4 separate regions of the Homo sapiens genome follow, and all the other regions are linked to region 3. Evidence: promoter capture Hi-C in 16 types of primary human blood cells and fetal thymus (Javierre and others, 2016). All regions are on one chromosome and are shown on one strand. The core of a region is centred on a gene start or on the middle of the fragment in contact, and the rest is flanking DNA. Distances in the headings are between cores, read along the strand shown.

Region 1 (3,253 bases), core at 275-2,774, 1.4 Mb before region 3:
TACCCTAGGGCAGCAACACTAGTACTAGAACCTTCTCTGAAACCCTGGCTCGTTCCTCCCTCGTATTAAAATATATTCATTATTATTATTACTTTTGAGATAGGGTCTCACTGTGTCGTCCAGGCTGTAGTGCAGTGGTGCCATCATGGCTCTCTGTAGCCTTGAACCCTTGGGCTCAAGTGTTTGCCTGCCTCAGCCTCTGGAGTAGCTGGGACTAGAGGTGAGTGTCTACCACCATACCAGGGTAATTTTTTTGTGTGGGGGCGGGTAGAGATGAGGGGGTCTCACTATATTGCCCAGGCTGGTCTTGAACTCCTGGCCTCTAATAATCCTCTTGCCTCAGCCTCCCAAAGTGCTGGGATTACAGGTGTGAGCACTTATTCATTATTCATTATTACATTCATTATATTATTATAATGGCCCGGCCTGTATTCATTATATTTATCATAAAGTAATATTAATAGTACATAAAAATATATAAAAGTACTTAAAAATCCATCCTCGTGTTTTTTGTTTTGTTTTCTTTGAGACAGAGTCTCGTTCTGTCACCCAGGCTGGAGTGCAATGGCACGATCTCGGCTCACCGCAACCTCCGCCTTCCGGGTTCAAGTGATTCTCCTGCCTCAGCCTCCCGAGTAGCTGTAATTAACAGGCATGCACCACCACGCCTGCATAATTTTTGTATTTTTAGTAGAGACGGGGTTTCGCCATGTTGGCCAGGCAGGCCTCGAACTCCTGACCTCGTGATCCACCCAACTCGGCCTACCAAAGTGCTGGGATTACAGGCGTGAGCCACCGCGCCCGGCCGGTTTTTGTTTAAAAAAGAAAAGAAAAAAAAAAAAAAACACACAGACACACACAAAAACATCACCCCAATCCTTCCACCCTTGAACGCCACTTGAAGCCTAAGTTTCCTGCCTCCAAATTCCACTATTTCCACCCTCGACTCTCCTCCCCAGCTGTCCTAGATTCTGCTCCAGCTGAGCCTTGGCCCCGGGGCTGTTAGAAGGCAGAGGCTCTGGGGAGAAGTCCCCAAACCGGATTTACCCGTTCGTCGCACCTGTCCCTAGGAGGGCAGGCTGGGGTGTGGAGGCGGTGCCCTGCTGACCCGCGGGGAGAGAAGCCCGGGTCTCCCAGGCTGCAAAACGCTCGGCACTGCGGAAGCCGCGCCAGGCTCTCCCAGCTCGATACGCAGCGGCCGGCGCGCCTGCTCCGCCGCGGGGCCGAGCGGCAGAGGGGCCCGGGGCTGCGTGGAAGGCCCGGGGGCTTCAGCCCGTGCCGGGGAAGCCGACGCTCAGCCAACCAGAAAGTTAGAGGCGGCCGAGGTCTCGCGGAGGGGAGGCGCCTGGCGGCCACGGGAGAAGTCGAAGGGCTCAGGCGGGGCTCCATCCGCGACACTGGGAGCCCGGGCGGGCGCGCACGTGTGTATACGAGTGCGTGGGCCCATCCGGCGGCCCGGACTACAAGTTCCAGGGTGCCCAGCGGCGCTCCCGGGTTTTCTGGCCGCGCCTCCCGCTGGCTCCGAGCAGGTCGCCGCTGGCTGGCAGTCGCCACCCGGTCCCAGAGTAAATAAGGGAGAGACACTCCCGAGCGCCGTAAATAGAGTCCAAGTGGGCGGAGAGCCGTCCCGCGCCGCCCGCTCATGTCTCTACAGAGCCGACTGTCCGGCCGCCTGGCACAGCTGCGCGCGGCGGGGCAGCTGCTCGTCCCCCCGCGCCCCCGGCCCGGACACTTGGCGGGTGCCACGAGGACCCGCAGCAGCACGTGCGGTCCCCCGGCGTTCCTGGGCGTGTTCGGCCGCCGTGCGCGGACCTCGGCGGGAGTTGGGGCGTGGGGGGCGGCGGCGGTGGGGCGGACAGCCGGGGTGCGCACTTGGGCCCCCCTGGCCATGGCGGCGAAGGTGGACCTGAGCACCTCCACCGACTGGAAGGAGGCGAAATGTAAGTGTAAGCACGAGGGGGCGCGAGGGAGAGGGCGGCCTCACGTGGAGCTTCCCGGCTGGGCGGCCCCCAACGAGCGAGCAGCCCCTTCCACCCGAGAGACCTGGGGAAGTTGAGGCCCCATCTGCCCTGGAACGGACCCCTCCTCCCCATTGACAGCCCCCCCCGCCCCCGCGCGTGTTCCCAGCCCCACAGAACAATTCACTCCAGACCAGGTCCAAGTGTCCACGCAGGGGGCAGCGTGAGGAAGGCGGCCTTCCTTACCCCATTGGAATGGGTCACAGGGCACCCCAGAGATTGTGCAGGACCTACCAACTTCCTTCCCTGTGCAGGAGGGAAACTGAGGCCGAGTGCCACAGCTGGCTTCCCCAAGGTCACTCGGAGCTGGTGGCAAAGTGGAGGTTATGATCCCGGACTCTCCAAACTTTGCACAGTGTGGTTCTTAAGTGTTCGGGAATGGGGCTGAGGGAACAGCTCCGGGGCTGGCGTCCCACCTGGTGGGGCACGTAACCTCACAGAGTGACCTTCCTGGGCTGGCCTGTCCTGCCTCCACCCCACCCCAAGCCCGCACTCTGATGCCTTCCTGGGCACGTGGTCTGGCGCCCTTTTCCCCTTCTCGCTGGCCTCTGGCCACTTGTGAGCAGTTTGCTCATGCCAGGAACAGAGGTTAGAGGAGCAGGGCAGAGGTGGGGTCTTGTCCCTGTGACAACTGATGACACCCTTCAAGAATCACACCACTTCCTCTTGCTCCTGGAGGGGGCATGAGTCTGGGGCCTGGGGAGAGAGAGAACCCAAGCTGCCGCTACTGAGCCCCAAATAGCCCTGCCGGGCACCCAGCTGCCCCTGCCTTTCAGGGCCTGCCTCCTGGGATCCTGTGACTCTTCCCGGCTGGATCCCCTTTCAAAAGTGCAGGGAAGTGGCTAATTGGCTGGGCCTCCGTGGTGGAGTAGGTGTGGCCTCTGGGCTGGGCAGGCAGGATGGGGGGGTCCTGCGGTGTTAGGGGTGAAGAGAAGATGGCTTTCTCGGGACCAGAGGTGGAAATCAAAATGATTTACTCCTGACATGAATTGTGTGGCCTGCGCCAGGATCTAAAAGTGACGGCAGAAAGCACCGACTTTAGCCCGTGAGCAGATGGAGAACTTGTCAGGCACTTGGCCCTTGCCCCAGAACAGCAGGAGGAGTTTGGGGCTGGCAGAGACCCCTGGAGGGGGAGCCACTGTCCCCACAGAGACCCCTGCTCCCCTGAGCACTCTCTCAGAGGACAACAACCCAGGAGGGTGGGAAAGAGCTACGGAGACAAGGTGCCCAGGCAC
Region 2 (3,570 bases), core at 600-3,099, 1.2 Mb before region 3:
GGTCTCTAGACTTGGTTTTCTACATATGAAGTACGTAATACCCAAAACTATTTGTTAAAACACGATGACTGTTTTGACACGGATTAGACAACTATTTTTGTCTAATAAGTTGATTTGTTCAGTCGATAAATAGTGGAGTGACGGGAAAAAAAAAAACTAGGTTAACAACAGTAGGGACAAACCCAATGGGTTAAAAATAGCACAAATCCATTTTAGATCAGTAAAGTTAAGGCTGAGGATACAGACAAAAATAACAGCCACTACTTAGGAGACACCTCCTTAGCAATCTACATCCATTATCTCACTTAATCTTCACTACTACCCTAAGGGGGAGGTATTAGCATCCCAATTACAGAGGTGAGGAAATTCAAACACATAAAGGCCAACTCACTGGCACACTATTATACCACCAGCAGCGAAGACGGGGCTGGAAGTGAGGTACCTCGGGCTCCAAAGTCAGGGTTCCCTTAAGGTGATGGAAATTCCATGTAAATACTAATATAGGCCTGTGTGGTGGCTCACGCCTGTAATCCCAGCACTTTGGGAGGCCTAGGCGGGTGAATCACGAGGTCAGGAGTTCGAGACCAGCCTGGCCAACGTGGTGAAACCCTGTCTCTACTAAAAATACAAAAATGAGCCGGGCATAGTAGCGGGCGCCTGTAATCCCAGCTGCTGGGGAGGCTGAGGCAGGAGAACCGCTTGAACCCAGAAGAAGGAGGATGCAGTGAGCCGAGATCGCGCCATTGCACTCCAGCTTCGGCGACAAGAGCAAAACTCCATATCAAAAAAAAAAAAAAAAAAAAAAAAAAAGAATACAGCCAATACTAGGAAAAGCGTTATCTTTTTAGGAGGGTGACTGATACTGCTGTAATTGAGACTTAGTAAGGTGAACGCACAGAAACTTGCAAATAACTTCTGCCCTACCCTATATCCCGGGAAAGTAAACTAAAATGCACCTCCAGGCTGCCGGCACGGAACAAGTGGTCAATATCCATCCGCGGCTGGGCCGCCGCCCCCGCCTCCCCGCATCTTCCCCGCACACCTGCACAGCCCTCCCCTTGCAAAAAACACCTGCACTACCAAAACCCCTAACAACCCAAGCGGTCGTAAGAACCATTTCATTGCAACCAGGAGGCGTCGAAGGCAGGAGTCTATGGGAAAGGAAGGCTGTGTTTATCAGGAGCAGCAGGAACCTGGTGGAGAGGTTTCGAAAGAGTGTAGGGGAACCGGCTTCGCTGAGACTCGAGTAACGGGAAGGGCAGTGGACTGGGATTCGGGAGGCCCAAGGTGGGGTCTGACGCCCCCGACAATATGACCTTGGCTAGGCGCCTTCTTTCCTCTGGGCCTCAATTCCCTCCAAGCCAGGGTTGACCTCGGATGTGAAAAGCGACGAAGCTGGTGACAGCCAGGTGATGAGTGACCCTGGGGGAGCGGGAAGCTAACCCCAGGGTCCCCGCGGGGGACGGTGGTGGGGAGGCCAGTAACGGGTCCGCGAAGCAGGAAGGGGCGGGCGTGACGCTGGGGGCGCCGAGGGGGTGGGGCCCCGGACCAGGGGCTCTCCAGAGGATTCCCGGGCTAGGCCTAGCGTAGGGACCCTTAGAATGGGGGAGTCGGGTCATGTGGGGGTCAGGGGTCACGTGAGGCTGGAGGGGGTCGGGGTCACGTGAGAGGGGGGTTTAAGAACAAAGGGGGCGAGGGTAGCGAGGAGCGCCCCTGGACCTCCCATCTCCTCTCTCTGCCTCACTCACCCCCATAGCGGCGGCGACAACGCTCAGCTTCTTCTTCACACACTTGCCGGCAGGGAGGCGGCAACGGCGGTGGCTGCAACAGCGGCGGCAGCAGAGCGGACGGCCCTGCAACGCGCATGCGCCTCGCAGCTTCCCCCCCCCCCCCCGCCCAACCGCGCGCCCTCGTACCGCGCCGGCGCAGAACCGGCGCAGGGCAGCGGTGAGCCGGCGCGCAGGTGGAGCGCCCGCTAGGCTGGCCGAGGGTCTCCGACCAGGAGGAGGCGGGAGCGCGGAGGAGCGTCGCGCCGGGAATGACGTGCGGCCAGAGCCCGCCCCCTCGCAGGGCTGCGTCTGTAACTATGGCAACGGCGGCGCCAGGCCTGGCTGCTCACCCAGGCCGTGAGTCGCGCGCCGCTGGGGGCCGGGTGGTTGGCAGCACCTCCCCTGCGGCCAGCGACTCCTTGGCCCCGCGCGTAGCAGCCGGCGGCACAGCCACCTTCCCAGGCGGCCAATCGCGTCTCGACCTCTAAAGTACCTGCCCCTCCAGAGCCCTAGCGCGCGTAGCGGAAGTCTTTGGAAACTTTCCCACCTTCCAGATCTTGACTCTTGAAATTCCTTTTCTAACCAGAGTCCTGTTACTCATTCATTCGTCTTCTAACCATTCATTCCCCCTCATTCATTCACGTTCTCAATAAAAATTAACTCGCATCTACGCGGTGCTGAGCCCAGGGGGCACAGAGAGGAGCGAGGTGCCATCTCAGCGCCACACCTCAGGGTTTAGAGGGGAGACGGGCACGTAAGCACTGTTTAGGAGAGAGTGGACAGTGCTGTTAGCGTGAACACCAGGCATCCCGGAAAGTTTTAATTTCAACCCATCCCCAGCACACCGGAGTGACCCGCACGTGACCCGAATCCAAACCGCCGGGGGCGCTTCCGCAGTGTGCACACCTCTGCCAACCTCCCCCAGAATCTCCAGGGGTGGAGCCAGAGTCTTCACTTCCTAGTGCTCCCCAGGTAGGGAGCGAAAATTAGTGAAATGCTTCAAGACGAAAATTAGTGAAATGCTGCCCAACACTTAAGCTTCATGGACTTTTTCAGGTTTTGCTCATTATTCCATCTTTTTGTTTTTTTAAGAGACAGGGTCTCGCGGTCGCCCAGGCTGGAGTGCAGTGGTGCAATCACAGCTCACTGCAGCCTCGACCTCCTGGGCTCAAGCGATCCTCCCGCCTCAGCCTCCTGAGTAGCTGGGACTACAGGTGTGCACTACCATACGCAGCTCAATTTTTATTTATTTTTTGTTGAGATGGGGTCTCACTGTGTTACACAGACTGGTCCCAAACTCCTGGGCCCAAGCGATCCTCCCACTTTGGCCTCCCAAAGTGCTAGGATTACAGGCGTCAGCCACTGTGCTTAGCCTCATTATTCCAACTTTAGTGCTCAGTACAGTGGTGGCCTCAACAACATTTATCCAGTGCCTACTGTATGCTAGGCACTGTTCCAAGCAGCAAGGAAAACAACAATAAGAAACAGAATAGGCACCACCCTTGTATCCTAGAAGGAGGAGACCGATAATAGATGAAATAAATAGGTAATATACATAGTTAGTTAAATGATACAGGCTCGGCCGGGCGCGGTGGCTCACGCCTGTAATCCCAGCACTTTGGGAGGTAGAGGCGGGCGGATCACGAGGTCAGGAGATCGAGACCATCCTGGCTAACACAGCGAAACCCCGTCTCTACTAAAAAAATACAAAAAATTAGCCGGGCAGGGTGGCGGGCACCTGTAGTCCCAGCTACTCGGGAGGCTGAGGCAGGAGAATGGCGTGAACCCGGGAGGCGGAGCT
Region 3 (3,059 bases), core at 49-2,548:
AGGTGCTTTTTTTTTTTTTTTTTGCTGGAGTGCAGTGGCGCCATCTCGGCTCACTGCACGCTCTGCCTTCTGGGTTCATGCCATTCTCCTGCCTCAGCCTCCTGAGTAGCTGGGACTACAGGCACCCGCCACCATGCCTGGCTAATTGTTTGTATTTTTAGTAGAGACAGGGTTTCACCGTGTTGGCCAGGATGGTCTTGATCTCCTGACCTCGTGATCCGCCTGCCACGGCCTCCCAAAGTGCTGGGATTACAGGCGTGAGCCACCAGGCCCGGCCAGTGTTTTTGTTTTTGTTTTTGCGATGGAGATTCGCTCGTCACCCAGGCTGGAGTGCAATGGCACGATCTCGACTCACTGCAACCTCCGCCTCCCAGGTTCAAGCGATTCTCCTGCCTCAGCCTCCGAAGTAGCTGGGATTACAGGCATGAGCCACCACACCCGGCTAATTTTTGTATTTTTAGTAGAGACAGAGTTTTGCCATGTTGGCCAGGCTGGTCTCGAACTCCTGACCTCAAGTGATCCGCCTGCCTCAGCCTCCCAAAGTGCTGGGATTACAGGCGTGAGTCACCGCGCCCGGCGGATCTCTGAGGTTTTCTCATGGTGTAAAATAGGCACACTAGTGCCTACTTTATAGGCATTAAATGAACCCATGTTTATTAACCAGATTACCTGGCTGGGGTAAACGATGTAAATTATTGGCTTCTACCTTTACGTCAGCGTTTTCTCCATCTCTCATTTTGTCATTTAACACACTGTGCTACAATCATGTGGCAGCTTGATCATCTCCACTACACTATGCTTTATTTCTCGACAAAGCTCAGCACAAATGGCTTCTGATTTAACGGATGGACGCAGGTTCTGCACTGACTTCTGTTTCGGAACCACAGTAAGGCTGTGCAGCAGGAGCCACGAAACCCGACTCCACCTAGTGCTTTAAGACGCTACTGACCCGTCCCTTTGGCGAGGGGACAACTTCGAAGTATGACCTGGCCAGGAGGAGCCACAAAGCGCGATTAGCCTCGCTGCATTTCAGGTACAGGCCGGCGCCAGCCGTGCCTCACCAGGTCCACCGGCTCCGAGCAGCAGCAAGCCCGGTCGGAAAGCGAAAGTGGCCTCGCCATGTCCAGACCGGCCAGCTCCCCCGCCTACCTGACCCCGCCCCGCAGCCGCACCTGGGTCCGAGTCATCGCCGCGGCCGCCACGGCCCCGCACAGGAAGGCGGCAGCAAAGAGCGCAAGCTCGACGCGCTGCAGCCAGGACAGCGCCATGGCGCCCTGACCACCAGGAAGCGCCGCTGCAGCAGCACCCCGCCCAAAGCCCACCTTATCCGGCGCGACCCACGAAGGTGGAGACGTCATTTCCGGGGGCGGGATTTATTTACAAGGAACGAAGGGGCCACTGACTCAGAGCGGCAAGTACAGCGAGTAGTCCGAGAGCGCCCACCGGCGGGCGGGGCGGCTGGTACGGCCGATCATGGGCAGTTTCTGCACGTAGCGCGAGGCCGGGCTAGGCCCGTACGGCGCGGGGAAGGCAGTCTGGAAAAGGCGCCCGCGGCAGCGCCTCCCAGCCTGCCGCCCGGCTATGATGAAACGAAAGTGCGGGGCGCCGCGCGGGGCGAAACGGCTCTTCTGGAAAACGTCGCGGGTGCCGGTCCCGGGGCCCTGCTGCCGGGGTGCCCCGCGCGCCCGATGCACGCGCGGCAAGGGCCTGCTCTCAGAGGCGGCGGGCCCAGAGGCCGACGCGGGGCCGCCTCCGCCGCTGCCCCGGGGGCTCTCGTCGCCGTGCGGGCTGACTATGGCGCTTGCCGTCAGCTGCGGCATCTTCCGCACCGAGTCCGGGGCTGCCGCCGGCTCCTTCTTGTCCCCGGGCGGCCGCGGAGCCGTGGGTGCAGGCTGGCCGGTGCCAAAGCGTGTGGCCAAGCTGTCACCGAAGAAGGCGTAGAGCTCCCGGTAGATGTCGGCCAGGGTCACCGAAAGAGAAGGGTCCTCCGGCCCCGCGCCCCCTGGCGGCAGCGGGAGGCCGGACCCAAAGCTGGGTTCTGCACCGCCCCCGGAGGACGACTCTTGAAAGAGAAGGCTGTCCCATGGCAGGTCGTCCAGGCGCCGGCACCCCCTGCCACCTGGGCCACCCCTGTTGGGCTCTGCTGCCTGGGCCTTCATCTTCAGCAGTCGCTCTACCGCCACCTGTAAGAGCCAAGGACTAAGATAGGCAAAAAATTCGAGGAACCTGGGCCCATCAAATATTCCAAAGTAAGCCTGCTTGGCTGCTAAGCTCATGCAGGGAAGGGAGGCTGGAAGGGGACGGTACTCACCAGAATGGCTCCATAGACTTTGTGTCCATCTGCTTTGACCTGGGCATTAGATACTGAATAATCATCCAGCACAGCCTGCAAGTTTGTCCAGTAGGTGGACAGGTGTGGGTACAGGACTCGTTCTACTGCCTGGAAGGAAGAGAAGGAATACAGTTAGCATGTCTTTGATACTTATTCCCTCTCAAGGACCCTTTCCCATGAAAGACCTACCTTTATCTCTGATCCTAGACAGGGCTCAATCCTCCTAAATTCCCTGATTGGCATATTCAACCATATATTTATTTGGAACCTACTGTATACCTAAGCTAGGCATTGGGAATAAAGATAAGGTACAAAGGGAGACAATAAAAAATATACCCAATATCACTGCCCTGTGTGCTAAATAATGCTCATTACTGACAACTCCAAAATTTAGTTTGCATACTGCTACCCTATACAATCAGGCAAGTACTGGCTTCACTTAGATGTAAACTGAGACTCAGTTCAAACAATCTGCATAAAAACAACCAACCAGAGACTTGGACTCTGATTATACAATTTAAAATCCTGTGATTGGACAGGCGCTGTGGCTCACGCCTGTAATCCCAGCACTTTGGGAGGCCGAGGCCAGTGGATCACCTGAGGTCAGGAGTTCAAGACCAGCTTGGCCAAGATGGTGAAACCCCATCTCTACTAAAAATACAAAAATTAGCTGGGCGCAGTAGCAGTTGCCTGTAATCTCAACTACTTGGGAGGCTGAGGCAGGAGA
Region 4 (3,543 bases), core at 649-3,148, 1.2 Mb before region 3:
CAAGGGGGACCCCACCAAGCAGGGTCAGTGACCCCCAAGGAGGTCACCATGGAGACATCAAGAGGTCATGATTGCAGAAGAGGTGACTGGAATTGAATGACATGATCCAGGGGAGGCCGGCCACAAATGCAGTAACATGACCAGGATGGGCCGGTGGGGCTGGTCAGGTCACAGTGTGAGGGACAGAACGGACCCCTTCACTCTGGCCTCCTGTAGGTCTCCAGGTGTGACAGGATCCAGCCCGCTGGCAGGAGGAAGGTCACGAAGCAGGAGGTAAGCCCAACGGCCAATTCCTACACAGAGCACAAGAAAGAAGGCACCTCGGAGTCAGTATTCCCCTAGGCTCTCTAAGTCCTTGCAGTTCCCAGGCAGCAGAAAGCCCCGCTCAGGGAGCCAGGACTCAGAGGCAAGTGGGAGGCCCCGCATCCTCACGTTAAAGGAATCCACGCTCCACGGAGCAGACAGAGCAGGTCCAAAGCTACGCTAACCCTTGAGGTAAAGGGTCAGTTATAAGGAGGGGGAAGAGTGAGAGGAAGGAGAGACAGCTGGGGTTAGGGTTCAGGGAGAAATGCACCACCAGATGGTAAAGGAAGGGACAGGAAGCAGGATTTATTGAAACCTGTTTTAAAGCTGGTCTGGGCCGGGCATGGTGGCTCACACCTGTAATCCCAGCAATTTGGGAGGCCAAGGCGGGCGGATCACAAGGTCAGGAGTTAGAGACCAGCCTGACCAACATGGTGAAACCCCGTCTCTACTAAAAATACAAAAAATTAGCCGGGAGTGGTGGCGGGCGCCTGTGATCCCAGCTACTCGGGAGACTGAGGCAGGAGAATGGCTTGGCTTAAACCTGGGAGGCGGAGGTTGCAGTAAGCCGAGATCGCACCACTGCACTCCAGCCTGGGTGACAGAGCAAGACTCCGTCTCAAAAAAACAAACAACAAACAAAAAAAGCAAAGCCTGTATGTTAAGACCCAGGATCCTTGCATGGGCCAGTAACTCCAAAACGATACCTATCCTTCCTTGCCTGAAAACCCCCTCCCAGGCCGGGCGCAGTGGCTCACGCCTGTAATCCCAGCACTTTGGGAGGTTGAGGCAGGCGGATCACGAGGTCAAGAGATCGAGACCATCCTGGCCAACATGGTGAAACCCCGTCTCTACTAAAAATACAAAATTTAGTTGGGCATGGTGGCACGCGCCTGTAGTCCCAGCTATTCGGGAGGCTGAGGCAGGAGAATCGCTTGAACCCGGGAGTCGGAGGCTGCAGTGAGCCGAGATCGCGCCACTGCACTCCAGCCTGGCGACAGAGCGAGAACCCGTCTCAAAATAAATAAGTAAAATAAAATAAAATAAAATAAATAGCAGTAACAACCATTTTCGTCGCTGACAGCGTCAGGCATCCCCCAGTGAACCAACGAGAAAATGGGCTCAGAGCGGCTAAAGAAGTCGGCAGGAGGCGGCGCAGCGAGGAGGCGACAGGAGAGGGAGGGCCTGACAGGACCAGACCCGAGATCCTGGGGCTGTGGGGAAAGACCTAACGCCGACAGCCCCGACTGTCGCCCGGGCACTGTCCCCGTCGTTCGCGCCCTCCAGACATGCCCAAACCGGCACTGCTGCTCCCCGCTACGCTGCGGGGCGCGAGGCATTCTCAGGACCACCTGAGGTCAGCTAGGCAGAAGGGGTCAGCCCACGGCGCCTCCCGCGCTCTTCCAGGCCCGTTCCTCACCATGATCCCAAGCTTCCCCTCCGGCGGCAACGAATGGATCTTGGCGCGCGGCACTGGGAGCCGCCGGGCCGAGCCTGTCAAGCCCCGCAGCAGCAGCGGCGTCAGGACGGACATGATGGCACGGAGTACACCACAAAAAACGGTCAGCCGTAGCCCAAGGTCAGGAAGCCAAAATGGCTGCGCTGGCCGGAAGTTCTGGAGCTGGGGAAGCAGGGAAACTGCGGCGCGGAAGTCTCTCGGAAATGACGCAAGAACACACCTCCCACAGCCCTTGGCAGTTTTTGGCGCGTTCCTCGAAACAGCCAATTGACACCTTCCTACGCTATGGGCGGAGCACAAAAGGGCTCTTCTTCGAGTTATGTTCCGCCTCCAAGGCTTATACTTGTGAATGACATCTGGGGCCACCCAATCATGTACGCGAGAAGCCTAAACTGTTCTTGACTCCTCCCTTCATTCATACTGTTAAATCTCTCTCTATTCAGGCTGGGCGTGGTGGCTCACGCCCGTAATCTCAGAACTTTTGGGAGGCCGTCTGTACTAAAAAAAAAAAAGTACGGGCTGGGCGCGTTGGCTCACGCCTCTAATCCCAGCACTTTGGGAGGCCGGGGCGGGTAGATCATCTGAGGTCAGGAGTTTGACACCAGTCTTGCCAGCATGGTGAAACCCCATCTCTACGAAAAATACAAAAATTGGCCGGGCGCAGTGGCTCACGCATGTAATCCCAACACTTTGGGAGGCCGGGGCCGGTAGATCATCTGAGGTCAGGAGTTTGAGACCAGTCTTGCCAGCATGGTGAAACCCCATCTCTACGAAAAATACAAAAATTGGCCGGGCGCAGTGGCTCACGCTTGTAATCCCAACATTTTGGGAGGCCGAGGCGGGTGGATCACCTGAGGTCAACAGTTCGAGACCAGACTGGCCAACATGGTGAAACCCCGTCTCTACTAAAAATACAAAAATTAGCTGGGCATGGTGGTGGGCGCCTGTAATTCCAGCTACTCGGGAGGCTGAGTCAGGAGAATTGCTGAACCCAGGAGACGGAAGTTGCAGTGAGCCGAGATTGAGCCATTGCAGTCCAGACTGGGCCACAAGAGCGAAACTCCATCTCAAAAATAAAAAACAACAATAAAAAAAGTTCGAAAGCAGCCTGGCCAACATGGTGAGACTCCATCTCGACTAAGAATACAAAAAATAGCCAGGCATGGTGGTAGATGCCTGTAATCTCAGCTACTAGGGAGGCTGAGGCAGGAGAACTGCTTGAACCCGGTAGGCAGAGGTTGCAGTGAGCTGAGATCACGCCACTGCACTCCAGCCTGGGCGACACAGCAAGACTCCGTCTCAAAAAAAAAAAAAAAAAAAAATCTCTCTATTGAGAGTCCCCTCCTCTCCACCAGGCCTCCGTCGTTTTTGTTGAGAATTCCTGACACTGACCTAGTAACCAAACCTCCCTCAATTACTATTACACTCTTCAATTCCAGTTACCATGCTGGAGCAGCCAACTTCCCTTCCTTCCTACCCTATCACTCTCTCTCCCTCCCCCATCCCTTCCTTCTTGGTTTTTTAAACCTAAATCTGACCAAGTCATATACTTTCAGTGGCTCCCCATTGCTTCCTAGTCAAAATCCCAATTCCCGGATGTCACTGTCCAGCCTCAACTCTCAAAACTCTTCAATATTCCACACCTTCGACCCTGCTCTCTGATTTCCACCAACAAGCCTTTTGTTGCATTCAAAATGCACTCTGCATTTTGTTATTGATGTTGAGACAAGGTCTAGCTCTAAGCCCAGGCTGGAGTGGAGTGTGGTGTGATCTCGGCTCAC

Evidence for each region. Contacts are between HindIII fragments. The CHiCAGO score rates a contact against its expected background, and 5 or more counts as called.
Region 1: a contact is called between the fragment with the promoter of MACROD1 here and the fragment with the promoter of TMEM179B in region 3, in 6 of 17 cell types (M2 macrophages, non-activated CD4 T cells, total CD4 T cells and 3 more). The highest score is 15.8, in M2 macrophages.
Region 2: the fragment with the promoter of NAA40 here is called in contact with the fragment with the promoter of TMEM179B in region 3 in 13 of 17 cell types (erythroblasts, naive CD8 T cells, fetal thymus and 10 more); the score reaches 17.6 in erythroblasts.
Region 4: a contact is called between the fragment with the promoter of COX8A here and the fragment with the promoter of TMEM179B in region 3, in 5 of 17 cell types (non-activated CD4 T cells, fetal thymus, megakaryocytes and 2 more). The highest score is 8.1, in non-activated CD4 T cells.

The regions. Positions count from the first base shown.
Region 1 is chr11:64,164,384-64,167,636 of GRCh38, reverse strand. MACROD1 (mono-ADP ribosylhydrolase 1) reads left to right here and starts at 1,524. Exons shown (of 11, transcript NM_014067.4): 1 at 1,524-1,940. The coding sequence starts at 1,643. It overlaps LOC105369339 (a long non-coding RNA gene), which reads right to left and starts at 1,399. Exons shown (of 3, transcript XR_950187.3): 1 at 1,048-1,399. RefSeq lists silencers at 1,138-1,397, 1,658-1,737, 1,868-1,967 and an enhancer at 1,505-2,005. The HindIII fragment of the contact is 18,296 bases long and covers 1-3,253 here.
Region 2 is chr11:63,937,281-63,940,850 of GRCh38, reverse strand. It overlaps NAA40 (N-alpha-acetyltransferase 40, NatD catalytic subunit), which reads right to left and starts at 1,849. Exons shown (of 8, transcript NM_024771.4): 1 at 1,749-1,849. The coding sequence starts at 1,754. RefSeq lists silencers at 1,743-1,928, 1,858-1,937, 2,198-2,247 and enhancers at 1,968-2,107, 2,346-2,846. The HindIII fragment of the contact is 5,806 bases long and covers 1-2,809 here.
Region 3 is chr11:62,785,641-62,788,699 of GRCh38, reverse strand. TMEM179B (transmembrane protein 179B) reads right to left here and starts at 1,298. Exons shown (of 5, transcript NM_199337.3): 1 at 1,173-1,298. The coding sequence starts at 1,268. It overlaps TAF6L (TATA-box binding protein associated factor 6 like), which reads right to left. Exons shown (of 11, transcript NM_006473.4): 10 at 2,312-2,440; 11 at 1,358-2,183. The coding sequence ends at 1,404. It also overlaps a transcript of TMEM223 not described here. RefSeq lists a silencer at 1,668-1,777 and an enhancer at 2,028-2,227. The HindIII fragment of the contact is 7,473 bases long and covers 1-3,059 here.
Region 4 is chr11:63,972,975-63,976,517 of GRCh38, reverse strand. It overlaps COX8A (cytochrome c oxidase subunit 8A), which reads right to left and starts at 1,898. Exons shown (of 2, transcript NM_004074.3): 1 at 1,724-1,898; 2 at 1-293. The coding sequence starts at 1,837. The coding sequence ends at 198. RefSeq lists an enhancer at 1,545-1,984. The HindIII fragment of the contact is 5,471 bases long and covers 1,738-3,543 here.